Linked DNA regions of Homo sapiens: all the other regions are linked to region 7. Evidence: promoter capture Hi-C in 16 types of primary human blood cells and fetal thymus (Javierre and others, 2016). All regions are on one chromosome and are shown on one strand. Each heading gives the region's core, a stretch centred on a gene start or on the middle of the fragment in contact. The rest is flanking DNA. Distances are from core to core; before and after follow the strand shown.

Region 1 (2,700 bases), core at 40-2,539, 410 kb before region 7:
GAAGGAAGGCACTGGGGGCGTGAGGAGGGGAAAGGGTAGGAAAGAGTCCTCTAGGAGGTGGGCGAGTACATGAACTAGGGAGATATGGTGTGACTGTTAGACAACTTAGGGTCTACTTGAGGGTGGTGGCAGATGGATATAAAGTGAGGTCAGTCAGCATTATTTTGTGTCTCTGTCCAGCCGTGAATAGCTGTGTGGGTACAATCATGGAGTAGGCAGAAAGTTGGGTTTAATATGGGATCCTGTTGAGCTGAGTGAATGGACACAGCTGGAAAGGGACACTGGAGGAGGTGAGTGCATGTGTAAAGGTGTGGTTGCATTCACTGCTTAGGGAATTTTACCTCGGAAGACAGGGGAATGAGGGCAGTGGAAAGTAATATAATCAGTAGATTGTAGGCCTGGTGGGGTCAAAGACTTCGTGGTGTTGGGGACAAGAAGGGGTGAGCTGGAAATGTAGGAGGTGGTTGCCAGAGAGGGGCCCTAGAATTGAGGATATAGAGAGGTTGCAGTCATGGTTAATGAGTCAACTCAGAGCAGGCAAGGGAGCAAATGGCGGAGGCGGGGTAGGGGTCTTACTAGGCTGTCTTGGTGTCTTACTTGGCTGTCTTGGAGTCCTGGGTTTCTTAGGATGGAGACCATTGAAGGAGAGGATATCAACCAAGAGACAGTGTACTGGATGGATCAACATATGGATATTGAAATCAATAAGAGCTACACCAGGAATAAATTTGGAGACTAGTAATGAGCCATAAACTAATACTAAGATCTTCTGAGAAGAAGGACAGGTTGTGACCTGGGGATTGGAAGATGACTGCAACACAGATGGGCAGACAGTGGCAAAAGCTGATGTTGTACTCAGAGCTGGGGCATTAGAAATTGGGAGGGGGGATAGTTGGATGCTGCAATCACCTGGCCCACCTGTAGGCCACTGGTTTGACGGCTGTGAAGAGAAAGCAGCCACTGCAGAGGCCCGCAGGGGAAGCCTATCCTCAGGCTGGCACCATGTCTCAATTGGAGCAGTGCCCCTCAGCCTGTTTTTTTTTTTTTTTTATCACTTTTGCCCCTTCAGACCCATTTAGACATTTTGTGCCTACTCCTTCCCCTTAAAATGAAATACTAAGGAATAAGATTTTGTCAGATAGGGTAGAGATTTGGATAGGCAAACATTATTGTAATATCTAAGATTTTTCCCACCTAGCCTCTAGGAAACAGTTTTCACCCCTTGAGAGTGAAATGAGAACACCATTGAGAATACATAAATTAGAACAAGTAGGTGGAGATAATCCTCAGGAACTAAGTGGGCGATAGAGAGAATTTTGCTGATGACTGAGTCTAGAGGGCCCTGAGGAAATACCAGTTTTTGAGGAGGAGTGGGAGATGGGGGCTGTGGTGGGGTGGGAGGTGGCATCAGAGTTCTATAGATCTTAGAGTCCAAGAAATGTAGAATTGTGGGTGTCTTGGGTCTTTTTGTGTAATTAATAAATAAGCCAGATAAAGGGCAACAGTGAGATGAATGCCAGTGTTCTTACAGCAGATGGTAGTGGTAAGACTGAGTGTGCAAGGGGCTAGGGAGGTGGGGCCTTGCCATGCCCACTCTGAGTGGTGAGGTGAGCAGGGCATTGCTGTGCACGGGCAGGGAGGGGCCAGAGGAAGGAGAGTCACTGAGAATGAGGCCTAAGAGGGAGGGGAGAGGCGAGAGCAGCTGGCTCTTGTGGGGAGAGGGAGTTGTATTTTTTCCTTATGTGTGTGTCAGCATTAACCGTGGGTGATGTGTGTAGCATATCACCATGTTTAAAGACCTTGACGTAGGCCGGGTGCGGTGCTTAGCTGTTGACCTGGGAAGAGTTGTGAATCTCACTGTCATATACTATAAAAAATGGGGAACGCTGGCCCCAACCACATCTCGGTTTTATATTAGTGAATCCATTTATGCCAAGGTCTCTCTCTTTTTTTTTTTTTTTTTGAGATGGAGTCTTGCTCCGTCGCCCAGGCTGGAGTGCAGTGGCGCTATCTCAGCTCACTGCAAGCTCCACCTCCCGGGTTCACGCCATTCTCCTGCCTCAGCCTCCAGAGTAGCTGGGACTACAGGCACCCGCCACCATGCCCGGCTAATTTTTTGTATTTTTAGGAGAGACGGGGTTTCACCGTGTTAGCCAGGATGGTCTTGATCTTCTGACCTTGTGATCCGCCGCCCGCCTCGGCCTCCCAAAGTGCTGGGATTACAGGTGTGAGTCACCGCACCTGGCCTATGTCAAGGTCTTTAAACATGGTGATATGCTACACACATCTGAAGTGGTATTATTTATTAGTCATAGGGATCCAGAAAGCCCTTTCTACGTTCCCTTCCCTCCCCCAATTCTCCTTGTTTTTTCCCCTTCCCAGATAATCTGGAATTTATCTTACTGTCATTATTATTATTATTTTTTTTTGAGACAGGGTCTCGCTCTGTGGCCCAGGCTGGAGTGCAGTGGCACGATGTTGGCTCACCGCAACCTCTGTCTCCCCGGTTCAAACGATTCTCGTGCCTCAGCCTCCCATGTAGCTGGGACGCACCACCACGCCCAGCTAAATTTTTTTGTATTTTTAGTAGAGATGGGGTTTCACCATGGTGACCAGGCTAGTCTCGAACTCCTGATCTCAAGTGATCTACCCACTGGGGCTCCCAAAGTGCTGGGATTACAGACGCGAGCCACCGCTCCT
Region 2 (2,700 bases), core at 88-2,587, 370 kb before region 7:
TCAAGAGAAGACTCTTTCACCAGGCCCTGAGGGGTTTGCTTCACGTAGGCACAGCTGAACTGTCAGTGGAGCAAAGCAGCTCATGCCCAGAACTGTCTTGTTGTTTGCTTGTTTTGATTTTAGTTTTAGTTTAAAACTCTTCTGAGGCAGGGTGTGGTGGCTCAGGCCTGTAATCCCAGCACTTTGGGAGGCCGAGGCAGTAGGATCACTTAAGCCCAAGAATTTGAGACCAGCCTAGGCAACAGTGAGACCCTGTCTCTGAAAAAAAATCAATCAATCAATACATAAATTTTCCAGGCGTGGTGTCACACGCCTGTGGTCATAGCTACTTGGGAGGCTGAGGTGGAAGGATGGCTTGAGCCCAGGAGGTCAAGGCTACAGTGAGTTGCAATTGTGCCACTGCACTTCAGCCCGGGCGACAAAGCCAGACCCTGTCTCAAAAAACAAAAAACAACTATGGCTGAGTGCAGTGGCTTATGCCTGTAATCCCAGCACTTTGGGAGCTTGAGGCCAGAGGATCACTTTGAGGCCAGAGGATCACTTGAGCCCAAAAGTTCAAGACCAGCCTGGGCATTGTGGCGAGACCTCATCTCTACAAAAAATACAAAAATTAGCCAGGCATGGTGGCATGGGCCTGTAGTCCCAGCTACTCAGGAGGCTGAGGTGAGAGGATCACCTAAGCCCAGGAGGTCGAAGCTGCAATGAGCCGTGTTTGCACCAATTCATTCCAGCCTGGGGCTACAGAGCAAGATCCTGTCTCGAAAAAAATAAAAAATAAATAAAACTCTTCTGGTTTCTGTCTGATTTCCAGTATCTTTAAGTTTGGGGTTTTTGTTTTGTTTTGTTTTGATTTTTTTTTTTTTTTTAATACACAGAGTCTCACTCTGTTGCCCAGGCTGGAGTGCAGTGGCATGATCATAGCTCATTGTAATCTTGAACCTCTGGGCTCAAGCGATCTTCCTGCCTCAGCTTTTGGAGTAGCTAGGACAACAGGCACATGCCACTATGCCCAACTTATTAAAAAAAAAAAAAAGAAAGTTTTGTAGAGATGGAGTCTCTCTATGTTGCCAAGACTGGTCTTGAACTCCCAGCATCAAGGAATCCTTCTGCCTTGGCCTCCTAAAGTGTTAGGATTACAGGTGTGAGCCACCATACCTGGCCTTTAAGTATTTTTTTTAAATCCAGTATTTTACTGTTTTGAAAGCCCCCAGCTAAATTGGGGGTCCGGTACCACAGTGCCTAGCAACACCGCCCTAACACGAAATAAGCAGGAGCAGGATGTGGGTGTTTACACTGTGCCTTTCGTTACTTCTAACTGTGGACAGCCTGCTGCTTAGTTGTCTGATCCATGACCAGGTGTCCCTCACTGGGAAACTTGTTTATACTGGCAGACACCTGGTGGCCCTTGTCTGACCCATGTCCTGCCTGCCCATTGCTCTGATGCTAGGATCCTGACCTTGTGTTCTCCCTGGCATCCCAGGGAAAACTCCGCCTGGGGTAGCCCCTGGTTCTTCAGATGGAGGGCGCAGTACACCATAATCAGAAACAAGCTGAAAGATTTATTACTTTCAGATCCTGGGCAGGGAAGGCACAGTGAGTCAGGAGGATGTCTCCTGTCCCTGGCTCACACGAAGCAGGAACAAAGGGTCAGGCAGAAAGAGAGAGAGAGAGAGAGAGAAAGAAAGGGAGAGACAGAGAGAGAGGCAGCAACTGACAGTATGTATAAGGAGGCTCATCAGAGCCCAGGAGTATAGATAAGGAAATAGGATGTGGGTCACCTTAAGTTCATGCACAAATGCCTGAATGGTCCATTAAACAGAAGCAGCAGGAAAAGTGGGGAGCTGCTAGGTGAGAGAGCTGCTTCTAAGTTCTTACCTCTGGTCACCTGCTTGAACCATTTGGGTGTGTGGTTCTGCTTCTAATGCCTAGGCAGCAACCTTCGCTGTGTCATTCCCATGACATTTATCACTGTTGGTTTGGGGGTTGGCGTGCTCACTTAACTCCTGCCTCTACCAAATGGTCACTCTCCACCAGTTGCGTGTGTGTGTGTGTGTTTGTGTGTGTGTATTAGCCCTTGCATGTGTGTGTATTATCTTGCATTGCTGAAAAGTAATACCTGAGACTGGGTAATTTATAAAGAGGTTTAATTGGCTCATGGTTCTGCAGCCTATAGGAAGCATGACACAGGCATCAGCTCAGCTTCTGGGGAGACCTCAGGGAGCTTTTACTCACAGTGGAAGATGAAGCAGGAGCAGACATCTCACATAGCAGAGCAGGAGCAAGAGAAAGAGAGTAGGGGGCCAGGTGCAGTGGCTCACACCTGGAATCCCAGCACTTTGGGAGGCCAAGGTGGGCAGATCACTTGAGGTCAGGAGTTTGAGACCAGCCTGGCCAACATGGTTAAACCACGTCACTACAAAAAATACAAAAATTAGCTGGGCGTGGTGGTGCGCACCTGTGATCCCAGCTATTCAGGAGGCTGAGGCACGAGAATCACTTGAACCCGGAAGGTGGGGGTTGCAGTGAGTCAAGGTTGTGCCACTGCACCACAGCCTGGGTGACAGAGCAAGATCCTGTCTTTTAAAAAAAAAAAAAAGAGAAAGAGAGTGCAGTGGGGGAGATGCCACACACTTTTAAATGACCAGATCTCACGTGAACTCAGTCACTATTGCAATGACAGCACCAAGAAGATGGTGCTAA
Region 3 (2,700 bases), core at 57-2,556, 440 kb before region 7:
TGAAAAGATAAGAGACTTTCATTATTACTGCTCCAAATGCATGAATGCTCAATAACCTGTGATCTATTTTTCATAATTCACATTTATAAAAAGTAACTTTGGAACTTCAGTCATTGTCAGCTAGCAGACAGTTTTTCCTGCTCCACAATTAAATAAGTCAGTATTCTTGGAAGTATTGTACAAGTTGTTTGGGAGCTCCCTACACATTGCCACTGGATAAGAAGACCTGAAACCCAGCCATGTGTGATGGCTTACACATATAATCCCAGCATTTTGGGAGGCCGAGGCGGGCAGATCACCTGAGGTCAGGAGTTCGAGACCAGCATGGCCAACATGGTGAAACCCCGTCTTTACTAAAAATACAAAAATTAGCTGGACATGGTGGCATACACCTGTGGTCCCAGCTACTCAGTAGGCTGAGGCAGGAGAATCACTGGAACCTGGGGCGGGTAGGCTGCAGTGAGCCAAGATGGTGCCACTACACTCCAGCCTGGGTGACAGAGCGAAACTCTTTCTCAAAAACAAACAAACAAATAAAAACCCTGAAACTTGTCTTTCAGCAGAGGGATTTTAGTGAGTTAGTATCAAGGGGTCATCACTTCCTTTTCTTCTTGGATAGCTGACACAAGACAGGAAGACTAAGGGCTCTTTCTGATATCTGAAGATCCCTTTCAGGAAACCCATTCTGTTGTGTTTCTTAAGGTGTGATAAAGCTTGTCCAGCCTCCACACCGTATAAAGTTCTCCTTTATACACCCATGTATCAGCAGAGCTGCCCTGTAGGTAGGATTCTTACTCCCACGTGGCCAGTGAGTAGCAAGCAAGGCCCCAAGTAAGGTCTTTGGGTGCTGTCTGTTCTTTCATGAGAGTCACTTTGATATGAGAAAGGGGTTGGGGAAAGATGCCTGAGTCTGGGCGTGGGCTGGGAGGGAAGCACATTTAGGGTGCTGAAACCACATCTTATTTCGTGTGCCATTTTGCTCAGGGCCAGCCCGAAGTGAGAATGGCTTTTCTCGGTCAATTCCTAGTTTTGCCACCATCATCCTTACACCCGAATCCTAGTAAGTCTGTTCTCCACTGAACTGAGCTGAGTGCAGCTGACAGCAGGCACGGCGGTGCCCCATTTGCCACCCCAGGGAGGCCGAGCAGCGGAGAGTGTGTGGCCACGGCCCCTCCACTCTCCCAGCAAACCCACGGGGGCCTCGGTGCGGACAGAGACCCGGTGTGGGGAGGCCGCTGCCCCTGCACGCTGGGCCACGGGGGTTTGGGCGGGGAGGAGCTTGTACTGGGTGGGCGGGGAGGAGCCCGGACGGCGGGAGCGGCTGCGGCGCGCGGGCGCCCTCGGAGCCGCGTGCTGGGGGTCGTAGGGGCCCACCGCGCTCAGCCAGACGTTCAGACGCTCGGACAAGCATGGTCTATAACCCAGGAAAGGGGAGCAGGGCCACTCCCGCGGGCGGCCCCAGCGATGAACCGGACGCCCCCACCCTGCCGGGAAAAAAGCAGTGGCGGTCAGGCCGCGCTGTCTCTTTAAGATCGTGTTCCTACTAACACTGACGGTGAGTAACCTGGCCCTGGGTCCCGGGAGACATCCCGAGGTAGGATGGGCCCTTGGCCTCCTACGGATAGGCGGGTGAGAGTACAAATCTCTGGGCGTGGAATTTGGGGAAGTTATGAATGGGGGGAGGGTCGGGTTCCGATTTGAGCCAAAGCCCCCAGGTACCTTGTACATTTTAACAGGGCTCCTAGAGAGGGCGGGGAGACGAAGCAAGGCCAAGTTCCAAAGGGAGGATAGGCCCAGCTGGCTTCAGCGTCCACACGGCATAGTCCTTCATGAATGTTGGTAAGCGCGGTAGCTTGTGAATTAGGGTGAGTGGCAGAAGCTCGGGCTTCACGGGTGGGTGGGGAGGCAGTGGAACTGACCACTGCCGGCTGTCAGGTAGGCCTTGGGCACCTGGTTCTGCAGACAGTTTTCTGAACTAAGAAGTGAAGCTAGCCTGCCCACACACGGGGTATCCACTAGCCCCTTAGGAGCAGAGAGGGCACCGTAGCAAGCAGCTGGCGGCACTGTGCCTCTCTTGCGCTCCCTGGGCAGAGAGGGAGAGGCTGAGTGATGAGGCTCACTTCATACTGGGTGAGCAGAATGAAGACTGTGAAGTCACAGAGGAAGTGGAATGCTACAACTGGCTGCCGGGGCAGAGGAAAGGTGTCACCCAGGCAGGTTCAGGGCTTTCTGGCTATAAAAGGGAGCCTCTGGGATCAGCAGGTCATATCTGGTGCCCATGGTTGACTGAGGAGTCGGGTGAGGCCACCCTACCACAAGGGTCCCCCTCCCCATCCTACACAGGAATGAAAACAGTCCCATGTACACTTTCTGGAAGCCTAAATACCACCCACACCATGTGGAAGGAAAGCAGGAGAGAGACTGAGTGGCACATCCTTTCGCCCTCTTTTCTCTCGAACCTCCTCCCAGGCCGACCACCCTTGCTGTGTCCAAGCCAAGCTCTGTGGGCTTTCTGTTCCTCCTGAGTAGCTGATTTTCAGAATTTGGGGTACCAGGGCTCTGGGGAATGTGAGCTAGAGAGCAGATAAGTCTGGAAGATGACCACTGACTCCTACTCTCCTACTTCTCCAGATGCAGAGGCCTCCATGGCTGTGATAAGCCTGCTGTTCTTGGCAGTGATGTATGTTGTTCACCACCCTC
Region 4 (2,700 bases), core at 52-2,551, 500 kb before region 7:
AGGGGTTCCTGGGGGTCATGGTGCAGGGAGAGCCCATGACAACAACCACGCAGCAGACACACAGCAACTTGTATTTCCCTCCAGTACTTTAGCCATTCTTTAAAAAAACATTTCAACTAGACGACACTACCAGGCACAGTGGCTCACGCCTATAATCCTGGCACTTTGGGAGGCCGAGGCGGGTGGATCACCTGAGGTCAGGAGTTCGACATCAGCGTGGCCAACATGGTGAAACCCCGTCTCTACTAAAAATACAAAAATTAGCCGGCCGTGGTGGCGCGCGCCTGTAGTCCCAGCTACTCGGGGGGCTGAGGCAGGAGAATCGCTTGAACCCTGGAGACGGAGGTTGCAGTGAGCCGACATCGTGTCACTGCACTCCAGCCTGGCGACAGAGCGAGACTCCATCTCAAAAACAAAAAACAAAACAAAAAAACAAAAAACTAGATGATACTGTCTGTCTCCTTTGATAACTATGCAAACTGCAAAAGCTCCCAGAAGCATAGGGTAGAATAAAGGCTGAACCAAAAAGAAACCAGGCCATGATTAAGTATTTTAAGCTTTCATAAAAAGTAGAAATGGGGTCGGGCATGGTGGCTCACGCCTGTAATCCCAGCACTTTGGGAGGCCGAGGTGGGTGGATCGCCTGAGGTCAGCAGTTTGAGACCAGCCTGACCAATATGGTGAAACCCTGTCTCTACTAAAAATTTAAAAAATCAGCCAGGTATGGTGGCGTGCACCTGTAGTCCCAGCTACTCAGGAGGCTGAGACAGGAGAACTGCTTGAACCTGGGAGGTGGAGGTTACAGTGAGCCAAGATCACATCACTGCACTCCAGCCTTGGTGACAGAGTGACTCCGCCTCAAAAAAAAAAGTAGGAAATGGGCCTTAACTTCCTCTCCTTCTTCTGTTACAGCCACTGGCAAGTTCTTCTTTTATTTAGGCCATGGGTCACCAAGTGATTTAGGAAAATTTGGAAAGGGCTGGCAAGACTCAGGCTATATAGCGTCCTTTCCTGAACTTGATCTCAGGCTGAGAGGGTGTGGGGTGTGATCATCAATCTCTAGGGCATACCCAAATCACTGTGGCACTGGCTGAAAGCGTGTTCCCAGGTCCCCAGAGAGTCCGAGTTCTAGGTCTGGAGCAGGGCCTAGGAATCTGGATTTTAACAAGCAGCCCAGGTAATCCCCATGCAGGTGATCCAAGCCCCACACTTCAAGAAACACTGGTTCCAGACCTCAGAGGAAGGTGGACTGATGGGGGAAAGTCCAGGAACCTGGGGAGGGGACCTAAACCCAGCAAAGCTGACTCAGCCCAACAGATGCCAGCATCACAGGTTCTGGGTAGAGAGAAGCCCTGAGCCTCTAGGATTGAGCACGCATACCCTGCCTCAGGCTCAGAGTTCGCCCAGCAGAGGCTGGCTGGGCCCAGACAAGGCTCATACACCTCTGTCTGGCTTTGGGTCACCCACGAAGCAGCCCTCAGAACTATCTGTCATGATCTCTTGTCTGCTGACCATCTGTTTTGGGCCCAAGCATCCAGCCTGGGTAACTGTCTACTGCCAGAAAGCCTGCCTGTGTGTGAACCCTGCCAGCAACTGGGACCAGCCTTCATTGAACCCAGCCCTGCAGAGCCATAGTGCATGGGGCCTCACTGAAAGAAAAGCTCTAGGAGACAGGGGCTATCTCCTGGCTGTATTTTAAATCTTATTAAAAGCTAAGAGAGTTCTTCTTGGGGTCCACGTGGCATGTGGCAGGGATGGGGCAGTGTTCTTATAGTGCTTCCAAGAATAACCTACCAGAGGTCACATGCCGCTCTGCAGTAGGCCGTGTCAGATTCCACTCACATTACTGATGAGGCCAGGCAGTTGGAGTAAGAAAAGTAATATGTGCAGGCTTCAAGGAGCCTGTATTGTTTCTTTGGCTGGATGGTGAGCACAAGGATGTTCATTTGATTATCCTTAAAAATGTACATCCATGACATATACTCCTATTGTCTTATGTTTCATTATACATGAATTTTACTAGTAAGGAGACATGCACATGATAAAAAGCTTCCAAGAGGACATCCCTCCCCTTGCGGATGTCCACCTGCTCCTCTCCAAAGGCAAATATTGTTGGAGGGGCCTTGTATACCCCTCCTGGAACAGCCTGTGCACACAGATGGGTGAAGTGCCCCCCTGGGGGATTTACCACACAGCTCAGATGAGGAGTCGGGGGCTCCAGAAGGTGAAGTGGCTTCCTCCAGGCCACACGCTGCAGAGCTAGATTCCAAACCATGATCAGGCTCCCCTACACTGTGCTGCTCGGAATCACTAAGTACCAGACTCGGCCACTGTATTTTTCCCTGGAGATAATCAATCAATTCCTAAAGAGTTGTGCGTGAATGAGGGGTCAGAAGCTAACAGGAATACTGTTGGAGCCATCCTCAGAGCCAGCTGCTAAGCTCACTAGAGGAACAGCTTGAAGCAATGAAATCTCTCTAAGAAGCAAAAAAGGTTTGGGTCATTAAGTCCTCACATGGGGAATTATTGGGCAAAACCTGCCAGGCATGGTGTCTAAGCTCCTGCAGCATTGCAACCATCAGAGCCTGCTCTAGGAAGTGGTCAGGACACCGGAAAGGCTTGGGACCTGGCGCCGAATCCTAGCTCTAGCAGAGACTGTGTTACTTTGAGCAAGTCCCTTGAGTGCGCTGGACCTCTGTT
Region 5 (2,835 bases), core at 208-2,707, 490 kb before region 7:
GAGTTCAAGACCAGCCTGGCCAATATGGTGAAAGTCCGTCTCTACTAAAATTACAAAAATTAGCCGGGCGTGGTGGCAGATCCCTTGTAGTCCCAGCTACTCGGGAGGCTGAGGCAGGAGAATAGCTTGAACCCGGGAGGTGGAGGTTGCAGTGAGTCGAGATCGTGCCACTGGACTCCAGCCTGGGTGACAGAGCGAGACTCCATTTCAAAAAAAAAAAAAAAAAAAAAAAATCACTTGTAGTCTTGGTGTGGTATCAAAGAATAGCCACAATTAGCTGAAAAGGCTATTTTAAAAACTTTTCCAACTGCGTATCTGTGTGAAGTCAACTTACTTCAACAAAAAAGTTTGGATGTAGAAGCAGCTGTAAGAATTCAACTGTTTATTATAACAAGATACTAAAGAGACTGTAAAATGCCACCCTTCTCCTTGGATTGTTTTGGAAGTTATTCTTCATAAAAAATGTTAACGTGGGCTGGGCATGGTGGCTCATGCCTGTAATCCCAGCACTCTGGGAGGCTGAGGTGGGCGGATCACTTGAGCTCAGGAATTCAAGGTCAGCCTGGGCAACATGGCTAAACTCTGTCTCTATTAAGAAAAAAAATGTTAACATTATGATTTAAAAGTGCATTAACCTTAATCTAGATAATAAAAGCTTTTTGGGGCAACCTCCAGAACTGTGAAAAATAAATTTGTTATTTAAAAAGAAAAAAAAAAAAACAAAAACCTGAGTTTCTTAGTTTTTAGTAGTGTAAAGAGGTCCTAAGACCAAATCATTTGAAAACTGCTACCCTGAGGAAACTGCCCTTCAGAATCATCTTTCAATTTTGTGTGCATTTAATCTAAAGAACAGAAGGTAAGAATTTGAAGACAGTCGGAAGATCTGGATTAGAAAACCTGTTTATTAAGACTGGGTCACATCCAGCTAGTACATTTCAGTGCCCTTTCTGGTGCTGCCTCCCAGGAGCAGACACTGCAAATTTCAGAACCCCCATCTAGAGAAACCCCTAACCTGTGATCTAGCTTCCGAGGCTCAGTGTTGGTTCTTGTGGTAGTGCTGATGTGTGGGTACCACTGAGGCCAGGCCACAGTCGCATGTACCCTCCTCTGGGCTGACTCACGAGGCTACAGGGGACAGCACACCTAATGAGCAGGTCTGTCCTCCAGACATACTCATTAACAAGCACGTTCCTGGCTAAAAAATAACCAGATCTTTTTGGCCGTGCCCTCAGGTTGGAGAAAGAAAACTTTTAATTTGGAATCACTACAAAGACAAATGGTTTCTACAAATTATTTTATTAGAATGTCAGACTCAAAAGAACTACCAGGAACATGCCTGAAAATGCTATATATGATTTATGCTTGACCCATGACACCTGCTGTCACTGGATCCAGAGTGAGCAAGGGAAAGGAAGTGGAGGTAGGCGGGGACAGCACCAGCCCTGGCTGGCCAGACCTGAGGCCCACAGACCTGGTCCCCACAACCAGGATTCCTACAATGTACACATTCCTAATTCAGGCTCAACTCTCCTTTACCCAAAAGTAAATGCCTCAGGACTCAATCTGAATCACTGTCTGTCTCAGCTTCTTTCACATCCACGCTGAATTTGTACTCCTGGTCACATCCCATGTAAGCGTCACTCATGAAGTACAGAGTGTAGTTGTGGGCACCAGTGGCTGGGGCCACAAAGTCCAACTTCACCTAGAAAGAGCAGGCAGAAATCAAGATGAGCATGGACACAGGAAGCATTCTCACCCTTCCCCCATGCCAGAACAAATGCTAGGGCCAGTGGACACACTCACCTTGGCCTTCTGCTGCAAGGTCAGCCTCTTGATGGAGATGAGGCTATTGGACTTGGCATCTCCAATCACCACCCACCAGCCCTCTTCACGTTTCTGCAGTGATCCAAAACCAAGAATTTCAGCATGTAAAACTTGATGACCATAGGCAACCATGAAAATGGTACAGTTACAAAAGAGAGAACAAAAATCAGATAGCTTTCCAAAGTTTCTTCCCGAAATACAATTAGATTTAACATTTTAATACTATCAAAAGTTGTCTCAAACAGACTTAATTTTTTAAGTAGATGAATTCATTTGTTGGTTCTGGCTCATTTCCTTGTGCCAAGGTACCTTCTCCCACTTAGTACCTGCCACTAAGTCCAAGGTACTACTATTAGAGGTCTAGTCTTTGGGGCCTAGGAGCTTTGAGTTCCTTAGAGATACTTTTAAGTACAAGGCAAATCTGCCAGATGAGAAAAAGCTTAGGCTGGGCGCGGTGGCTCACGCCTGTAATCCCAGCACTTTGGGAGGCCGAGGCGGGTGGATCACGAGGCCAGGAGATCGAGACCATACTGGCTAACATGGTGAAACTCCGTCTCTACCAAAAATACAAAAAAGAAATTAGCCGGGCATGGTGGCGGGTGCCTGTAGTCCCAGCTACTCGGGAGGCTGAGGCAGGAGGATGGCGTGATTCCGGGAGGCGGAGCTTGCAGTGAGCCGAGATCGCGCCACTGCAGTCCAGCCTGGGCGACAGAGCGAGACTCCGTCTCAAAAAAAAAGAAAAAGCTTAACACAGAGCTGAATGTGCACAGAGATATCCACAGCAGGCCTTGCAGCCCTGTCTACGGGCTGCCCCGCTGTCACAAAGACGAAGAGTCCCAGTTAAAAGCAGTCTTTACTCAGAGCCTTGAAACAATTAGTTTACAGAATTAAACATGACAGTATCTGGTTTCTGCTATCAACCTTCAATTATTCTCCCATATAAAGAGAACCAGAATTTCTTTCTGGTGGTAAAAAACCAAGCACCCAGAAGCACAGTAAGTGGCAGTGAGA
Region 6 (2,828 bases), core at 124-2,623, 460 kb before region 7:
CCATTAAGGCCAAAGCCATCTGCCACTTCATACGCTGTCCCCATGTGCTAAGATACACTAAATATACAACTATTGTCATCTTGGCCATACCTTCAAAATCTCCAATACTTCATCTGCCTTCTTCTGCGACACGATGGCATCATCATAGAAACGACTGAGCTGCCGCTGCAGCCAAAATGCATCAATATCCCGAGGGTGCAAATCCTTCTTCTTGGAACTCATCAGTTCACCTGAGGCTACGAGCTATAAAAGTAACCAGGCATTTAGCTCACCAGGTCTCTGCCAGCCTCGATCACTTTGCCACCACCCTGCAACCAAGTTCTACTTGACAATCCATAGCCCACCTTCTTGTGAGGACTTTCCAGAGGAAAAAACTCTGGAATATTGAGTTCAGAAGCACACCAGACTAAGATTTCATCAACATACATCTTTGGGAAGGAAGAAAACCGACAGAAATTTTAAGAAACTCTAGACACTAAGTGTTTATTATAGTTCACTCCAGCAAAAAGTGGCTCAATAAATGTAACAGGACCTAGGCATGGGGAAGAAGCACTAACACCCAGAAGTAACCTTGTAGCAATGAGGAAGAGCAAACTGAACTTACATTAGCCGAGAGGGTGCAGCGCACGACAGCCTCGTCCCCTTCCATGTCATCATCAGATGCCTCTTCTCGAACCTCCCCGTATACGTCTTCATCACCTTCCTGTGGAAATGACCCCAACTCAACCATGATCTGGAGCTGATCCTGCATCACCACAGAACCTCTCCCTCAAGTCACCCTAAATTAGCTCAATGGGTAGAGAAATGGCTTTGGGGTGAAACCGAGAGCCTATTGGAACCAAGGTCAGCCTTATTCCAGTGGACATAGAATGACTGCTTAGCACGACTTATTAGATATATCTACTTTCTATTTCTCACCTTAGGCTGCTACAATGGCAATCAACTGGATCATAGCCTCTCTCTAATACACACACAATCAACACTCAAAAACAGTGATCAGCTAAGGAGAAAAGAGCTATACAGAGGCATGCCTGGGAAAGCAGGTGGTGACTCCGGAATGAAGAGATCGCACTTAGCCTGCTCACCACTCTATTTACTCATACACTGCACATTAGGCGTACCTGGCATAGTGTCACAGTCAAAACAGGTACTTCAATAATGAGCACTGTTAAATGAATGAACTGCTAAAAGCAAAGCAGTTTGTTGCTACTTAAAATCATCAAATCCTATTAACTATACTGTAGGAAGAGGCTTAGCAATCACCTATTGAAATGGCCTCATTTTATAGAAGGAGAAACTGAAGCAAGATGACCTGCCAAGATACAGGACTCAAACTCAGAAGTCTTGGCTCCTAGTCCTCTGACTCTCCCCGTGCGACCCCTTCTTCCAGCCTTGGTATATATACCGGGGCTCCATTTTCCCTTTCAGGAGCCACTTCTACTCACTGAGAACTCTAAGGCACTGTAATTTTCTCAAAGTACCCCACTTATTCCTATTTAGTTATATTCAAGGAATTCTATTAGACAGTAAACATTAACCCCAGTGACTTAACCATGTACAAACTATGTCTGTGCTCTAGGGCAAATGTGCAATCTTTTAGTCAGATACAGTAATGAAAAATGGGAAAATACTGTAATAAGGTTAAAATGCAGTAAAACATAGCAGATACATTCTCAATGAAAGTATACACTGTACTTTAACTTTTTTCTTTCTTTTTGCTGATCCACTTGGTATATTTTAAATAATTATATTGTGGCCGGGCGCAGTGGCTCACACCCGTAATCCCAGCACTTTGGGAGGCCGACGGGGGGCGGATCACCTGAGGTCAGGAGATCAAGACCACCTTGGCTAACACGGTGAAACCCCGTCTCCACTAAAAATATAAAAAATTAGCCGGGCATGGTGGCGGGCGCCTATAGTCCCAGCTGCTCGGGAGGCTGAGGCAGGAGAATGGCGCGAAACCTGGGAGGCAGAGCTTGCAGTGAGCCGAGATCGCACCACTGCACTCCAGCCTGGGCGACAGAGAAGACTCCGTCTCAAAAAAAAAAAAATTATATTGCTTTACATTTGTTAGTTTAAATTTGCGGTAGCAAAGTTAAAAGATAACTGCACTTTTTTTTAAGCAAAAGAACATATAATGCCCAAGTCTGAAACCCATACAACACCATAAAATTTATCTGGTTTAAACTAGAGAGCTTGTTTACACTAGAAGGGGTCCCTTTACCTTAATCAACGTCAAAAACAAGAATGGACTGGGTATGTTTATCACTCACCTCCTCATCAGACTCAAACTGCACATTCACACCGTATGTCTCATCAATGTTGTCATCTGAAACAATGAAGGATTAGAAAAAGAGGGCAGTGAATGGCTAGTAAAACAAGGCACTCTGGAGCCAATGTCCTCCCCGACTACCTCTCCTCAGGAAAGATCTAAGTGCTAAGGACACATACAGATACTTAGATGATCAACATGAGAGAGCCACCTATGCTGCTCCTGCCAAGACCTTCTCCACCTGCCAGCCTTGGAGTCAGCCCAGCTCTGCTTGCTCAACCACTTGAGCCCCCAAGGCTCTGCCCACATTTTCTCATATTCCACACAATAAAAGGGTCTCAGAGTAAGGAACAGCTGCTGGAATCTAGGGATTCTGGTGTCCATCAATTGTAACTCTTCAAAAAACACAGAACAGATTATGGGAACTCACTGACATTAAGGTTTTTAAATGAATGATGCTAGAAGATGCATGTTTAGGGGTCAACAACAACCAATGAACATGATCAGAACATAAAGCGCGCACTTACCCATATTTTGGATTTCCTTATCTCCACCA
Region 7 (2,700 bases), core at 197-2,696:
CTGTTTAGGCTCCTTCCGTTTGGTACTGATTGCTGCTTTTATTAGCAAACATTACACCAAAATGAAAATAAATACAAGTGTCAGTGCGGGAAGGGAGTAAAGTGGGTTCTGTGTCTTCAGTACTGGCAAAAGATTTGCTGTGAGACCTGGTGGTCAACCCAGTACCTGATCTTCTCTGTGCACCTGTGCAATTATTGTAAGGATGTTTATCTGTCTGTCTTCTTCCCCCTCACAGGGCGGGCAGCTGTGGTCTTCCTTATACACCCTACTGACACAGGGCTAGGGCCATTCAGGAAGCAGTCATTTCAGGGATAGGCCCACTGCCGCGCCTGCCTGCTCATGTCCACAAGCAGCTGCCCAGCTGATCAATCACCACAATTTGGGGTTAGGAGTTTGGTCCTGGAAGGCAGGTAGCAACAACTACTACCTAGCCAAAGAATATTCTAAAGAGCTGTCCTGTCATGTTCAATGTCTAGGTCCACAATCCCGCAAGCTTAGCGAAGTAATGCTCTGTCATTCTTACCCCCATTTACAGATGGAGAAATGGGCTGGGAGATGACAGTATGGAGGCACCAGGATTTTTGTCTCGGCTCAATTTCTGCATCTCTAAATGGAAATAATTCTACTAACTCTGAGGGTTGTTGGGGGGATTTAATGAATATATGTGTTTACTTGTTTATCTCCTGTTTTCTGTTCTAGACTGTAAACCCCAATGGGCAGCGACTTTGGCTTGTTCACTGCTCTATTGTCAGAGCCTAGAACAAGTGCCTGGTACAAAGTAGGTGTTCAATAAATATCTATGCCTAAATGGAAGAGACAGGAGAGAAGTCTAGGCCAGAGCCTGCCCCTTCTATAACCTTAGTTCCCCAGATTTGCCTTCCACATCAGGCAGCCACTGGTTGATGGAAGCATCGTCGGGCTGGGGCTGGGGCTGGGGTAACCTACTTCTGGCCTTAGGACAAGGTCGGCAAAAATCTCAGCAGTGAGGAGGCCAGAAAAGTCTCCAAGGGGCAGGCTGCAATGCCAGCCTAAGCCCTCAGGTTTCCTTTTTCTTTTTCTACATCAGGAAAAGCACTTTTCTCGCCCTGCCTGCAGAGCGGGCCACCCCTAGCTGCAGGTGAGGGACGGGAGAGGAGCCTCCCACGTGCGGCCGTGCGAGGCCGAGGAACAGGAACGGCGTAGCTAGGAGACCAGGTCCCGGAGAAGGAGAGCTGGCCCCACTGGCAGAGAAAGGCGGGGAAGGGCGCGGAGGCGGAGCACTGGGCGGGTACCCGCTGGCGGCTCTCGCGCGGCGGCGCTGCTCCACCTTAAGCGACTGTACCCCCTTAAGGGCGGGCGCTCAAGCAGCGAGCCCCGGGGGCGGGGCCTCCAATGCAAATGAGGGGCGTGGGCAGGCGGGGCGGGGCGGGCGGGGCGCTGACCTGACGTCAGGCTCGCGGCCCGGGCAGTTGGCTCGGCGGCAGCGGAGCGGCCGGAGCTGCGGTGCGGACCGGGGCCGCGCGGCGTGGCGCGGGGAGCGGCGGCGGCGGCAGAGCCAGAGCAACATGGCGCCGGTGGGCGGGGGCGGGCGCCCGGTCGGCGGACCGGCCCGCGGGCGCCTCCTCCTGGCGGCGCCGGTGCTGCTGGTGCTGCTGTGGGCGCTGGGGGCCCGGGGCCAGGGCAGCCCCCAGCAGGGCACGATCGTGGGCATGAGGCTGGCGAGCTGCAACAAGTCGTGTGGGACGAACCCGGATGGCATCATCTTCGTGTCCGAGGGCAGCACCGTGAACCTGAGGCTGTACGGCTACAGCCTGGGCAACATCTCCAGCAACCTGATCTCCTTCACCGAGGTGGACGATGCCGAGACCCTCCACAAGTCCACCAGCTGCCTCGAGCTCACCAAGGACCTGGTCGTCCAGCAGCTGGTCAACGTGAGCCGCGGGAACACGTCCGGCGTGCTGGTGGTGCTCACCAAGTTCCTCCGGAGGAGCGAGAGCATGAAGCTGTATGCACTGTGCACCCGGGCCCAGCCCGACGGGCCCTGGCTGAAGTGGACGGACAAGGACTCACTGCTCTTCATGGTGGAGGAGCCTGGGAGGTTCCTGCCTCTCTGGCTGCACATTCTCCTAATTACGGTGCTGCTGGTGCTGTCGGGCATATTTTCTGGCCTCAACCTCGGGCTTATGGCCCTGGACCCCATGGAGCTGCGCATCGTGCAGAACTGTGGCACCGAGAAGGAGAGGCGCTATGCCCGCAAGATTGAGCCCATCCGGCGCAAGGGCAACTACCTTCTCTGCTCGTTGCTCCTAGGGAACGTGCTGGTCAACACCTCCCTCACAATCCTTCTAGACAACCTCATCGGGTCCGGCCTCATGGCGGTGGCCTCCTCCACCATTGGCATTGTCATCTTTGGGGAGATCCTACCTCAGGCCCTGTGCTCCCGACATGGGCTGGCTGTGGGTGCCAACACCATCCTTCTCACCAAATTCTTTATGCTACTCACCTTCCCCCTCAGTTTTCCCATTAGCAAGCTCCTGGACTTTTTTCTGGGCCAGGAGATTCGCACTGTTTACAACCGGGAGAAGCTGATGGAGATGTTGAAGGTGACGGAGCCCTATAATGACCTCGTGAAAGAGGAGCTCAATATGATCCAGGGTGCCCTGGAACTACGGACCAAAACTGTAGAGGATATCATGACCCAGCTCCAGGACTGCTTCATGA

The links. Contacts are between HindIII fragments. The CHiCAGO score rates a contact against its expected background, and 5 or more counts as called.
Region 1: a fragment that was not itself captured here is called in contact with the fragment with the promoter of CNNM4 in region 7 in 10 of 17 cell types (total CD8 T cells, non-activated CD4 T cells, total CD4 T cells and 7 more); the score reaches 13.3 in total CD8 T cells.
Region 2: a fragment that was not itself captured here is called in contact with the fragment with the promoter of CNNM4 in region 7 in 7 of 17 cell types (naive CD8 T cells, total CD4 T cells, non-activated CD4 T cells and 4 more); the score reaches 9.4 in naive CD8 T cells.
Region 3: a contact is called between the fragment with the promoter of ITPRIPL1 here and the fragment with the promoter of CNNM4 in region 7, in 17 of 17 cell types (M1 macrophages, erythroblasts, naive CD4 T cells and 14 more). The highest score is 15.9, in M1 macrophages.
Region 4: a fragment that was not itself captured here is called in contact with the fragment with the promoter of CNNM4 in region 7 in 3 of 17 cell types (naive CD4 T cells, total CD8 T cells and naive B cells); the score reaches 6.3 in naive CD4 T cells.
Region 5: a contact is called between a fragment that was not itself captured here and the fragment with the promoter of CNNM4 in region 7, in 5 of 17 cell types (non-activated CD4 T cells, naive CD4 T cells, total CD4 T cells and 2 more). The highest score is 7.2, in non-activated CD4 T cells.
Region 6: a contact is called between a fragment that was not itself captured here and the fragment with the promoter of CNNM4 in region 7, in 11 of 17 cell types (naive CD8 T cells, total CD8 T cells, naive CD4 T cells and 8 more). The highest score is 12.2, in naive CD8 T cells.

Annotation. Positions count from the first base shown.
Region 1 is chr2:96,346,245-96,348,944 of GRCh38, forward strand. All of the region lies in intron 6 of NCAPH (non-SMC condensin I complex subunit H), which reads left to right. Among named protein-coding and RNA genes, the nearest start is that of NCAPH, 12 kb to the left of the region's middle. The HindIII fragment of the contact is 3,449 bases long and covers 1-2,700 here.
Region 2 is chr2:96,390,053-96,392,752 of GRCh38, forward strand. No RefSeq gene overlaps it. Among named protein-coding and RNA genes, the nearest start is that of NCAPH, 56 kb to the left of the region's middle. The HindIII fragment of the contact is 6,592 bases long and covers 1-2,700 here.
Region 3 is chr2:96,324,011-96,326,710 of GRCh38, forward strand. It overlaps ITPRIPL1 (ITPRIP like 1), which reads left to right and starts at 1,307. Exons shown (of 3, transcript NM_001008949.3): 1 at 1,307-1,555; 2 at 1,737-1,839; 3 at 2,632-2,700. The coding sequence starts at 1,830. RefSeq lists a silencer at 1,222-1,471 and an enhancer at 1,494-1,994. The HindIII fragment of the contact is 6,653 bases long and covers 712-2,700 here.
Region 4 is chr2:96,257,053-96,259,752 of GRCh38, forward strand. The region is part of intron 2 of TMEM127 (transmembrane protein 127); the gene reads right to left. Among named protein-coding and RNA genes, the nearest start is that of TMEM127, 7.6 kb to the right of the region's middle. RefSeq lists enhancers at 912-2,700, 2,549-2,700. The HindIII fragment of the contact is 1,492 bases long and covers 556-2,047 here.
Region 5 is chr2:96,273,454-96,276,288 of GRCh38, forward strand. CIAO1 (cytosolic iron-sulfur assembly component 1) reads left to right here. Exons shown (of 7, transcript NM_004804.3): 7 at 1-720. SNRNP200 (small nuclear ribonucleoprotein U5 subunit 200) reads right to left here. Exons shown (of 45, transcript NM_014014.5): 44 at 1,804-1,896; 45 at 885-1,702. The coding sequence ends at 1,559. Among named protein-coding and RNA genes, the nearest start is that of CIAO1, 8.6 kb to the left of the region's middle. The HindIII fragment of the contact is 1,608 bases long and covers 654-2,261 here.
Region 6 is chr2:96,298,725-96,301,552 of GRCh38, forward strand. It overlaps SNRNP200 (small nuclear ribonucleoprotein U5 subunit 200), which reads right to left. Exons shown (of 45, transcript NM_014014.5): 4 at 2,800-2,828; 5 at 2,274-2,329; 6 at 605-703; 7 at 91-243. Among named protein-coding and RNA genes, the nearest start is that of SNRNP200, 5.4 kb to the right of the region's middle. The HindIII fragment of the contact is 9,589 bases long and covers 1-2,828 here.
Region 7 is chr2:96,759,456-96,762,155 of GRCh38, forward strand. It overlaps CNNM4 (cyclin and CBS domain divalent metal cation transport mediator 4), which reads left to right and starts at 1,447. Exons shown (of 7, transcript NM_020184.4): 1 at 1,447-2,700. The coding sequence starts at 1,545. RefSeq lists enhancers at 885-934, 1,494-2,083, 1,955-2,204, 2,084-2,672 and silencers at 1,265-1,684, 1,808-1,991. The HindIII fragment of the contact is 3,226 bases long and covers 492-2,700 here.